2 separate regions of the Homo sapiens genome follow, and region 2 is linked to region 1. Evidence: promoter capture Hi-C in 16 types of primary human blood cells and fetal thymus (Javierre and others, 2016). All regions are on one chromosome and are shown on one strand. The core of a region is centred on a gene start or on the middle of the fragment in contact, and the rest is flanking DNA. Distances in the headings are between cores, read along the strand shown. Region 1 holds the start of GIT1 (GIT ArfGAP 1). Region 2 holds the start of NSRP1 (nuclear speckle splicing regulatory protein 1).

Region 1 (6,368 bases), core at 3,433-5,932:
GCTTTTCAGCACCTGGACAAGGCCCTTGGGGCCTCCCAAGAGGGTCTTTCTCCACTCCCTGTTCCTGAGCTGGGGCTGGGCTCTGAGAGATCCAAGGATCTGCCCAGTTTGAGAGCTAAAAGAGAAAGCGCTCACCGTTGGGGAGAGGGCGCTGGGTGGGGCTGGGGTGCCTGGGAGTGTGACACAGCCTCTTCCCCATTCTTGACCTATGGCCCCCTCCCCACGCAAGCCTTTCCCACCTCCGCACCCTCACTCGGGAGGTGTCGCCGCTCAACTGGCTGGGGCGGACTCTCCCACCACATGGAACACCGACACAGCCCGCAGCCCCTCCCTGCAGCCCTCACTGCCCCGGCGGAGGAGGGGCACAGAGGCCTCTACTCTCATCTAGGTGAGTCCGAAACACGTGTGGTCCCGCCCGTCCCGGCCGGAGGGGATCACCCTTTCCCGGTCAACAAGCACAAAAGCCGCGGCCGCAAACAAAGACGCGCCGCAAACTCGCCAGGGAGGCGGGACAGCCCGCGCCGCACCCCCTCCCCAGGCCGGACGGGCGTGCCCGGCCGCGGGGTCCCCGCGGCGCCCCGAAGGCGCTCCTACCTGGCCCGCGCGGACCTCCTTCTCCAGCTCGCGGTGGCGGTTGTGCCACACGAGGTAGTGCAGCGGATACTTGCCCTCGGGCCCCTTCCTGGCGGAGGCGTTGGCGGGGATCATCGCCCGCTCCTCATGCCGGGGCCGCGGCGCCCGGCCGGGGAGGAGGGACGGCGCCGGAGCCGGGGCCCGGGGCCGCGGGGCGGGGGGCCGGCGCTGCCTGCTCGCGGGGCTGCGGCTCGGGCATGTGCGAGCGGCGGCGGGCGGGGGCGGCGCGCCCGGCGCGGTGCGGGCGGCGCGGGCGACGGGCGTCCTCGCGAGGCGGCGGCGGCGGGCGGCGCGGAGAGGCCCCCACCCGCCCTGGGAGGGAGCGGGCACTCGGCGGCGCTGCGCGGACTCGCGCTCGCCTCCCACACCCCCGCACACAAAGACGCCGCTCGGCGGAGGGAGCAGGCGCCCGCAGCGGGCGCGGGGGCGCACGGGACGCGGGCCCCGGGGACGCCGCCGCAGGGACGCGCGCCCGCAGCCCCCGGGTCCCCACAGCTGCATAGCCCGGCCCTCAGCCCGAGCGGCCGGCGCGGGATACGGGGATGTGGGGATGATGGGGAGAGAGGAAGGGGACCAGGCGCCCCGGGTAGAGCTTGTCAGCTCAGCCCCGCGGCATCATGGGGTTTGTAGTCCGCCTCGTGAAACTGGGGGTGGCAGGTGGCCGAAGAGGGTCTGCACTGTCCCCGGATCTCGTGGGAGAGTGGGCGGGGAGTCAGGCCTGGCCCAGACGCGGGCGGGGCCCTGACGCCAGGTGGGCTGGGACGCACCTCCCCCGCTGGCATTTTGCCTTTTGCTGGGGAAGTGGGGGGGCACGGGCCTAGGTCGAGCGTTTGGGAGACGGGGTGGAGGTGTGGTCTTCAGAATTGAGCTTGGGTCCCAGGGGCCATGAAGAAGGATCCGGATTCCCAGAAGAGAGCGTCTGATTGGGAACTCCTGAGAAAGGTGTGGGGCATCAGTACCAAGGGTCATTGGAGCAGCCAGGGGTCTGGCCCCTGGAACATTTCTGAGGAGTCTTCCCTGCCCTGTTAGAAAATTAAACTCCATCTTCCACACATGTCATTGGAAACAGAATGTCCAGTAACGCGGGAAAGATGGTCCCTTTCCCCCCGCACACTGTCCCCAGCAAGAACCAGAGTGAGGTTGGACAGAAAAAGCAGCAGGTGGCAGCTCCGTTCCTCCACCCAGCTGGCCCTTCAGGAAGGGAAGTGACTGATTCCAGAGACTGTCTCCTTCCTGAATGACCCCAGGGTGAAGAGGTACTTCCAGAATGGTCCCTGCAGAGGGTGTGGTAAAAGTTGAATTGGCCTCTCAAGCGCCAATTGCAAGGCCTGGAAGGACCAAGAGGCTTGGACCAGTCCCTGGAGGGAGGGGACTGTGATGTCAGAGAGACCAGAGTTCGAATAGCTCCAACTGCCTGACCTTAAAAGAGCAAACTGCTTAATTTTTCCGACTTTCTCGGTCCACTCCCCTTCAAAATGAGAATCTAGATACTACCTCCTGGGGTGAGCTAAGGATAATGACTGCCCTGGAAACAGCGCCTCCCTCCCCCAACCAGGCGGGCCGAGACAGGTGGCGGGACCAGGCACGGTGCCTTCTTGAGCCCACCTCAGAACAAGGCAGGAATAAGGGATTCCACACCGGCCCTACTTAAAACAACAATCCAAGAAGTGTTTGTGTGGGAGGTGCCAGCAAAAGCTTGCAAACTCTCTCAGGTTTCTTTGTGTGGTCTTCCCTCCTTCCTCCTCCACACCCTGTGGTGCCAGGCCCCAGCGGGAAGAGATGAGGGAGGAGCGGGCTGCCTCGCCCCTTTCTCCCGCCTGGGAGGAGCCAGCTGGCGTCTCCGGGGGCCCGGGACCGCTGCCCGCCTGCACCACCAGGGGTCAGCAGAGTGTCGTGGCTGCAGCCAGTGCAGGGGAGGGGGCTGGCGCGGTTGAGGGGCATCTAGGAGTGGCCGGGAGCATGCCTGTGCATTTCCTTATTAAATTGTTTTTCGAACCTTGTGTGTGATTCCACTGTAGCAGTCCTGCTTCCTGGGGTGGTGACATCTCCACGGGGGAATCCAGAAACCCTTTTATCTCCAGTCCCAGGCCCAGAAGTTTGGCTGTGACGGGGCTGGGGGAAACAAAGTTTGGACGATGTGTCCGCGCCAGGGCCACTCCCAGGTAGTCTCTGAGCCAACCAGGAGATGGGGAGTGGGGTGGAGGGGTAAGCAGAGTGAATCATCCTTCTTCCCCAGCAAAGCCCAGGAGTCCGAGGACAGGGGGAGTTCAGGATGGATTGTGGGGAGTTGTCGATTGTGGGGAACTGTCCCCTGGGCGGCCGTGTTCTTTTTTTGCCAGGCGGCGGTAGACACTGAACCCAGGTCGCTTGCGCTTCGGCCCGCGCTCTCAGCTGCCACGTGCTCGAGACGCGCCCACACAGCGGAGAAACAAAGACAGCCAAGCGGCAGGGCTGCCAGCAGCCTCCTCGACATTTAATAAATGAAATTCCATAGCTGGGGGTCGATCGGGGGTGAACGGGCGGCCACCGCTCGTGGACTGAGCGCCTGGCACGGGCTGCCTGGCCACTCCTCCCGTCTCACTCCCCCCGCCCCTTACCCCCTTCCCGCTGAGGCCACCAAGCCCATGGACTCTGGTGAGAGAGCAGCTCGGGGCGGCAGGTGGTGCTCCCCCCTACACACCAGCTAGGTATCGTTGCTTGCAAAAGCCCCACCAGCTGAGCGGCTGGCTGTCGAGGGAGGGGAGGCCTGCAAGATTTTTTTAAGGTGCAATTATAAATAAAGCCCATGGATCGCGATTTCAAACAAACTTGTCAATCTGGGCCGCAGCAAAAGGCGATGGAGGCAGCTTTGCATGTATTTCGGGTGGTGTGACTCATGAGCATTACTTGTCTCCCCTAGGGAAGGAGCCTGCCCACCCACAAATCACTGCCGCTCTGGCACCGTTGGGATAATCGACCAACTTGAGCACCCCTGCCAAAGGACTGCCCCCATCTTAACAAGCAGGAGTCTCTGACTCTTGGAGAACCCCTCCTCAATTGTCACCACTGACCTGGCCCCCAGGTCTGGCCCTGGGGACCTCTACCCTCTCCCCACAAGCAGAGTGCCCGGGCCTTTTGCTGCTGCAGGGATTGGGGGTTGGGTACACGCGCGGCACACGCGTATGGGGGCGCATGCTCAGTGCGGGGGCTGCGCTCATGTGCGGCCTCTACCTAGGCTCCCTGCCCCCCAGCCCACCCACGTCCCTCACCTGCCTTGCCTTTGCCTGCCTCGTCGTGTGAAGTCCAGGAAGAAAGGCCGTCACCTGAAACGGCCCCTCTATGTTATATGCACCCTTTCTGGACACACACACCTCTGGTGGCCCAGAAACACCGTGGGTGTGTGTAAGGCGGATGACAAGTGGATGTGAGTGCACACAGGCACAGTGGTCACTCCTCGGGAGGTCTTTAAAAACCGCCCAGATTCTCTCCTCTCTGGATGGAAGGATGCATGGAGAGATAGATATATTTTTAGTCCGGAGGCAGGGGAATACACTGCCTGACCTTTCTGGCACCTGGGCGTCCATATTGTTAGCAGTGGGCGTATTCAGCAAGAGTGTGACACATACACACACACCCCTGGACACACAGATGTGGACACCTACGGGACAGGGACGCACACCTCACCCCAACCAGAGATAGACGGGTACCCCAAGGCACAGCCCCTTTGACCTGGAGCGGGACTTGGGCCTCCAAGTCCTTCTTCCCTAATCCCCACCCTCGCCGTCCGTGGGCCCAGCGTCCCCCGGTCCACCCCACGCGGAAAGTGAAGGGGAGGGGGCTGTGAGGGTGACTCACATTGCCTCCGGGCCAGGCGAGCGCTGCAGCGGAGGCCAGGGCCGCAGGCCACGCTGCCCGCCGGGGCCGGGCATCTGCCGCGGCCCCTTTAAGCGCCCCCGCCCCCTCCTGCCCGCGCCCGGGCTTCCTTTCTCTAGGGGGCGCGGCCGGCAGCGCGCGGCGGGGCGGGGGTGCGGCCCCTCCCCCTGTGGGCAGGGCCTGCGCCGCTTCCTGCAGAAGCGGCCGGGAGCCGCGCAGGGGGCGGAGAGAGGAGCCGCGAGCGGCGGCGGGGCGGCGCGGGGCGGAGGGCGCCCGAGGGCGAGCGGGCAGGCGGGCACGGCGGGTTCCGGGCCAGCCCCGGGGCGGACGGTTGGCCGGGCGCGCGGAGCCTCGCCGGGGCCTCGCCGGAGCCGGGCCGGGCAGCAGGGGCCGCCGCCGCCGCCCGGGCCCGCCGCCCGCGCCCCCCACGCTGGCCCAGAGGGCTGCGGCCGCGTCGCCGCTGAGGATGTCCCGAAAGGGGCCGCGAGCGGAGGTGTGTGCGGACTGCAGCGCCCCGGGTAAGCGCGGCGGGGCCGGGGGCGGGACCGCACAGCCAGGCCGCCGCCGGGCGGGCGCCGGGGCCTGGCAAGAGCGCTGTGCGGGGCCGGAGGGCTGGGCGGGGCGGGGGGCTGCGGCCTCCAGGCTGGGCCCCCGCCTCGGCCACTGCGGAGCTGCGCCCTTGGCGGGAGGGCCGGCCTGGGGTGCCCATGCTCCCTGGAGGCCGTGGACTAGCGAGGAAGGACGTTCCCGGCGCCGCCTCCCGCTCCTCGGTCTGAGGGAGGCGGGCAGCTGGCTGCTCCTCCACCTCCATCTCTGTATCCGACGGAAGCGCCAGCCTGGGGTGGCAGGAGGGCCGTGGCGGAGGCCGTCAGGGCTTGGGAGGTGGGGGCGAGTGTGGTTTTATGTCATCTCAGTGCCACCCCCGCGTCTTGCACCTGCTGCTCGCGTGGTCGGTACGCCTGCCGGGGTGGTGGAGGGCAAGGAGCAGAGGGCCGGGCAGATGCGCCAGTGGGGCCTGAATACCGTCTCCTCAGGAGCAGATGAGCGGTGGCTACTCCCAGGACTCCCTGCCTCGGGTTCCTAAGGCTAGCGCTCCTTGCCGGGCCTGGCGTTCAGGGCCAGTCTAGACCCGGGTGTCTTCTCGGGAGGCATCCCCAGGCCTGCTGGTGGTGACTGGGAACAGCTCGGCTGGACCCTGCTGTTCCTGTTCACCGGTAAGGCCTGCTTGGGAAAGTGAGCTTGGCATCAAGCTATCCTGGGTGCGGGCCCCTCCCTGTCCCCTAGCCCAGTCTGGCCAGAAATGGGTGGGAGGCCGTGCCGAGATTCCCCGTATCCTGCTGGCTTCCTGGCCTGTCTCCTGGCTGTATTTACATGGTGGTTCCCTTCCTTTTCCTAACAGAGTTAGGACTGGGCTGGAGTGAAACCCCCCAGGCCTGCTGAGGAAGTCAGGGGTAATGATCCAAGAGGCTGCTCCCTTCTGATGAGGGAGGACAGCCAGTGACGGGGCTCTGCAGCTGGCCTGGGAAGGAAGCTCTAGCCCACATCCATTCTTTCTTTAGCAAAGGAGCTATCTCCCTGGTAGGCCCCTGGGCAGGCTGCGGAGGTCCGTGAACTCTAGCGGGGCTGTGGGCATGATTAAGAGTGAGAGTATGGGGTGCTGGTTTGTGGGCCCATAACTTTCAGCCACCCCTTGAGCAGGCCCAGGACCCCACCGGTTGAGCCTCACAGATGCTCTGGTGGTTCTGGGGGTGCCAAGCTAGAGTATTTGGGAACTATGACTTAGCAGGGCTTGGGCACAAAATACTCCATAGGTGGTTATGACCAAGGCCTCCTAGGGGCTTATCATGGTTTAGAGGGCCCTGGGGTTGAGGGTCCATACCCCT
Region 2 (5,649 bases), core at 2,935-5,434, 530 kb before region 1:
CACCTCTATTTTTGCCTATTTAAATCTAAACCAGCCTTGAATGTTATTTAAATGCTTATTCCTGCCTTGATTTTCCTGCAACAAAGTGAATCATTTCATTCTCTACATTTCATTCACATTCTGTAACGCTACTGTTAAAACAAGGCAAGACAGAAGAATAGTATAGGTTTGAAGGTCAGATAGGCCTGTGTTCAAATCCCAATCTTGACACTTATTTATCAGCCACATGGCCTTGAACAAATTACTTAACCTGAGCTTCAATTTTCTGACCTGTAAAATGGGAATAATAATACATCAGAGTGATCCTGAAGATCAAATAAAGTATAATGAGCACACAGGAATCCTCAGTATATTAGTTTCCTTTTCATATTTCAGTTTGCTTTATATTCATGTTCACATGTCTGTCTTCCCCACTAGACTAGACACTGGTTGAAAGCAACACTATATAAGGTCCCAAAAAAAACTGTTAAAGCGTACCACATAATAAAAAGTATATAGGCTATATAGATGCAAAACTGATCAACTCTTAACCTATTGTAGGTATTAAATATCTACTAATGCAACGACATAATTAAAAATTCAAAAGTTGTAATTAGTAACTTCCTCAATATTCCATTTGAAAATATTCTAGTTGGCTACGCAGAAATGGAGATTTAACTAGTAACCTTGATTCATTTCTTATGGTCAATTATTCTAATATTTTATGAAGAAATAAAAACAGAAAAATGGAAGAAAAACTTAAGTCACTGTTAAGGGGGAAAAAATCCATTTTAAGAAAAATGTGATTCTACAACTACATGGATAAATCTGGCATTATACTGAGTGGAGTAAGTCAGACATAAAAGAGTACATACTGTATGATTTTTTTTATATGAAATTCTGTAACAGGCAAAACTAATCTAGTGATAGAAATATGAGCATTTGTCTGGGGTAGCAAGTGGGGAGGTAGACTGACTGCAGGAGGGTATGGAAAGCCTTTTGGGAGAGAGGGAAATGTTCTAAATCTTGATTGGGGCATATACATTTGTCAAAAATCATCAAGCTGTACACTTAAAATCTGAGCATTTTATATGTAAATTATACCTCAATTTTTAAAAACTGTGAGCCATAAAGAGCCAATGTCTTCAAAAGTAGCAAAGAAATATCAAATATGTTAAATTATCCACCCATGCTATTATATAATAAAAACTGAAAACCGGTCAGGCACAGTGGGTCATGCCTGTAATTCCAGCACTTTGGGAGGCCAAGGTGGGTGGATCATCTGAGGTCAGGAGTTCGAGACCAGCCTGATCAACATGGTGAAATCCCACCTCTACTAAAAACACAAGAATTAGCCAGGCGTGGTGGTGTGTTCCTGTAATCCCTGCTACTCAGCAGGCTGAGGCAGGAGAAACGCTTGAACCCAGGAGGCGGAGGTTGCAATGAGCTGAGATCGCACCACTGCACTCCAGCCTGGGCGAAAGAGGGAGACTCCATCTCAAAAAAAAGAGGCTGGGCATGGTGACTCATGCCTGTAATCCCAACACTTTGGGAGGCCAAGGCAAGTGGATCACCTGAGGTTAGGTTCAAGACCAGCCTGGCCAACATGGTGAAACCCCGTCTCTCCTAAAAATATAAAAATTAGCTGGGCGTGGTGGTGGGGCACCTGTAATCCCAGCTACTCAGGAGGCTGAGGCAGGAAAATCTACTAAATACAAAAAATATTAAAAATACTAAAAATACAAAAAAATAAAAAAATAAAAATTAGCCAGGCATGGTGGCAGGCACCTGTAACCCCAGCTACTCAGGAGATTGAAGCAGGAGAATCACTTGAACCTGGGAGGCAGGGGTTGCAGTGAGCCAAGACTGCACCATCCCACTCTAGCCTAGGTAACAAGAGCGAAACTCTGTCTCAAAAAAAAAAAGAAAAAAAAATATTAAAACATGATGGGAGTATTGGAAAAGCACATATTTACTGGGTGCGGTGGCTTACGCCTGTAATCCCAGCACTTTGGGAAGCTGAGGCAGGCAGATCACCTGAGGTCAGGAGTTCAAGACTAGCCCGGCCAACATGGTGAGACCCTGTCTCTACAAAAATACAAAAATTAGCTGGTCATGATGGCAGGTGCCTGTAATCCCAGCTACTCAGGAAGATTAGGCAAGAGAATCGCTTGAACCCAGGAGGCGGAGGTTGCAGTGAGCCGAGATCGCGGCATTGCACTCCAGCCTGGGCAACTGAGCAAGACACTGTTTCAAAAAAAAAAAAAAAAAGAGAAAAGAAAAGCACACATTTGGGATTGTTTCTGATATATAACTGTGGGTTTCACAGAAGTAGTTTTGGCTGCTAAAATAGAAAATGTTGATATTAGATGTTACTGTAGTACTATCAAGAGTAACTATTCACTACCACGATTATAACTGAGCAATTACATTTGGCAGACACTGAATTTAAAAAAAAAGTAGCGTTGTTAAGAACTGTTATATAGTGATCTTAGCTCATGGTTAACAAATTAAAAACTGCTTTGCTAATAAAAATTTGTAGAAAATTGGTGACATCTTAATAACTCATACCTAGGGATCTTTACACCAACAATTTTGTTATGACAATTTCAGTAGTCTGAAAAGACCGTGTATTTGTTTAAAGGTAAAGTTTGCAGCTTTTAGAGGGAAAAAAATCTTTAAAAAATCGGTGGAGCTGCTTTCTTTACACCTTCCTTTTTGACAATTCTGTAAATTATACTCCACTGTACTGACAAATAACAAAGGCAAAGGTATCAGAGTCACAAGTTCAATTTTTAAAAAATTTACATTTCCAACCATGCACGAGTAAAACATAGGTTTCCTTACCTCATCATCATCATCAGAATCATTCCCAAACACTGATGGTTTTTGCAAAACAGGGTGCAACTGCTGTGTTTTCTTTGGCAAAATAAGCCCATACCTGCATATATTTTTTTTGAAATAGAAATTAAACCTTTATGTTTAAATGTTAACAAATACATCTACTACCTCTTCCACATGAAGCTACCAAATCAAAACATGTCATAAGCTTTATGAACACGTAACAGACTGTTTTTGCTTCTCAGTGATCTCAAAATTCTAACATGCCGTAAGATTCTATAATTACTACTCTAAGTGATCATTTGTGGACACGGGCCAAACTCGAATACCATTTTTATCAAAGAAGAGAAGTAAATGAAAAGTTCAGAAATGTTTTAAGATGGCGAAGTGACAGTAACATTTAAAAAAAAAAAAAAAAAACATGTGTAGTGGAAAGTTTAGTTCATGTCCACTAAAGATTTTAAAATGCTTTCAACTATCCTTGTGGTCTAAACAGTCAAGAAAATGGCTAGATTTTTTTTCCTACTGTGTACTTACACAGTTTCTAAGAACTGACTGGATAGTGTAACTCACGAAAATTTTTAAAAGATAACTGAGAAACCCAAGTAGCCATGGGGCAAGTTCGCATTACACTTTATTAAGATCATGTGCTTTGCCTCGGAGCATCTGAGAGAACCATCCCATCAGATCCAACTCCTTTAGTTTCTCACGTTTTGGCCTTTAAGATGCGGAGATCACGGGAGGCCGCATCAAAAGTAAGGATTACACATCAAAGGTAAAACTTTCAAGTACGTACAGTATTTGTCTCTTTTGCGGCAACGTATACCCCAATTTCCTATATGCCTACCCTTTTTCTGTGGCTTCTCAGAACAATATTCCTAAAACGAGAAGGAAGGGCGGGAATCAGGACTTGAGCTTCTGCCAAGGAGAACAAGGCCCTCTAAGGAAGCCAGGAACTGTCTCTCTTCACACTGCCCCTGAGAGCATCCAAGCGGGGAGAAACTCAAGCGCGGGTTAGGAAGCAAGACTGAGGGGCCTCAGACCGAGCTTTTGGAAAATAGAAAAGTCTCGCTCTCTGCCCCTCAGCCTAACTTCCTTTATTTCCTCACAAGTTTCTCCCTCAAACTTCGGGCTTCCATCCGGGAAAATGTACGGGGGAGGGGAATCTATGTTCCTCAGGACTTCTCGTTTTTTCCCGTCTCTACCCTTGACGACACAGTCCCTTCACTTCCAGCGCATTTAAAACTCCTCGGCCAAAGATACAGTCGCCGTAGTTTCTCATCCCCCAGCCTGACCCTAACTCCCGGATCACTCACTGCCTGCCCGGAATCGCCATCTTGCTCCCGTGTCCGCTGAACGTGGCCGACGCCTCCGTGACGCTGACGCCGATGTCGTCACGTAAACTCTCGCGCGGCTTTGGGTGGCCCGGATCCTGCTTGTCGGTTGAATCGCTGGTTTGAGTCACTTCTATGGTACTGGGAATCGGATCCAGTGACCTCTGTTTTGTTTCGGAGCCCACCGGCTGCCTCAAAATCTGTAGGAGAAAGGAATGACAACGTTCTAGGCCAGTTGTTCGCAGTGTGTGGTTCTGGGACCAGCGGCATCAGCAACACCGGAGATACTGTTAAAATGACAAATTCTCGGGCCCTACCCCAAACCTGCAGAATCAGAAACTTTGGAGTGAAGCGAGTTATCTGAATTTTAACCAGCGGGTAATTCTGATAAAGTTTGAAAACCACTGCCATGGCTATCGATATTCCCCCTACCCCCTTCCAAGTGTTCACTTTAACTGGTTCAGGATAATTAGGCGAAAAATGAAAATCTGTGTATTAATAATACCTTACATAGGACCAAAATTATTATTAAAAAAAAAATTTTTTTTTTGAGACGGAGTTTCGCTCTTGTTGCCCAGGCTAGAGTGCAAAGGCGCGAACTCGGTTACCTCAACCTCCGCCTCCCGGGTTCAAGCGATTCTCCTGCCTCAGCCTCCCGAGTAGCTGGGATTACAGGCATGTGCCACCACGCCCGGCTAAGTTTGTATTTTTAGTAGAGACGGGGTTTCTCCATGTTGGTCAGGCTGGTCTCGAACTCCCGACCTCGGGTGATCCGCCCGACTCGGCCTCCCAAATTGCTGGGATTACAGGCATGAGCCACCGCGCCCGGCCCAAGGACCAAAATTATTAATAATACTGTTCACGGGCCATTGGGTATAGGAATCAGGATCATATATGATACTTTTTTTTTTTTTTTTTTTTTTTTGAGACGTAGTCTCGCTCTTGTCGCCCAGGCTGGAGTGCAGTGGCATAATCTTGGCTCACTGCAACCTCCGCCTCCCAGGTTCAGGCGATTCTCCTGCCTCAGCCTCCTGAGTAGCTGAGATTACAGGCGTCCGCCACCATGCCTGGCTAATTTTTGTATTTTTTTAGTAGAGGCGGGGTTTCACCATGTTGGCCAGGCTGGTCTCAAACTCCTGACCTCATGTGACCCACCCGCCTCAGCCTCCCAAAGTGCTGGGATTACAGGCGTGAGCCACCGTGCCTGGCCCATATATGATACCTTTTTGAAAACTCTGCCCACATCTGTGCACTCATTCACTCTTGGTTCATTCCCAGCTAGTCTCAGAGCAGCCAAAGAGATCAATTACTGAGATAAGGATGTTGAAATCTCCAACTATAATTGCGAATTTGCTTCTCCTTTCAATTCTATCAGTTTGTGTCGTGTATTTTGAAATTAGGTATGTAAACATTTAGGATTGTTACGTTCTCTTGCATTAACCTCTACTAACCTCTATAGCATTAAGAAGTGGCCCTCTTTATTCCTTTATTCTTC

What was found. The method cuts DNA at HindIII sites, captures the fragments that hold promoters and counts their contacts. A CHiCAGO score of 5 or more calls a contact.
Region 2: a contact is called between the fragment with the promoter of NSRP1 here and the fragment with the promoter of GIT1 in region 1, in 1 of 17 cell types (fetal thymus). The highest score is 8.8, in fetal thymus.

The regions. Positions count from the first base shown.
Region 1 is chr17:29,587,962-29,594,329 of GRCh38, reverse strand. GIT1 (GIT ArfGAP 1) reads left to right here and starts at 4,682. Exons shown (of 20, transcript NM_014030.4): 1 at 4,682-5,003. The coding sequence starts at 4,952. ANKRD13B (ankyrin repeat domain 13B) reads right to left here and starts at 1,198. Exons shown (of 15, transcript NM_152345.5): 1 at 595-1,198. The coding sequence starts at 708. RefSeq lists enhancers at 10-79, 3,702-4,601, 5,501-6,368 and silencers at 2,404-2,593, 4,354-4,833, 5,094-5,283. The HindIII fragment of the contact is 9,256 bases long and covers 2,331-6,368 here.
Region 2 is chr17:30,115,351-30,120,999 of GRCh38, reverse strand. It overlaps NSRP1 (nuclear speckle splicing regulatory protein 1), which reads right to left and starts at 4,184. Exons shown (of 7, transcript NM_032141.4): 1 at 4,137-4,184; 2 at 2,827-2,920. The coding sequence starts at 4,156. It overlaps MIR423 (microRNA 423), which reads right to left and starts at 3,921; the gene lies at 3,828-3,921. It overlaps MIR3184 (microRNA 3184), which reads left to right and starts at 3,840; the gene lies at 3,840-3,914. RefSeq lists silencers at 3,752-3,821, 3,758-4,359 and enhancers at 4,072-4,171, 4,202-4,301, 4,322-4,441, 3,474-4,673. The HindIII fragment of the contact is 3,145 bases long and covers 3,031-5,649 here.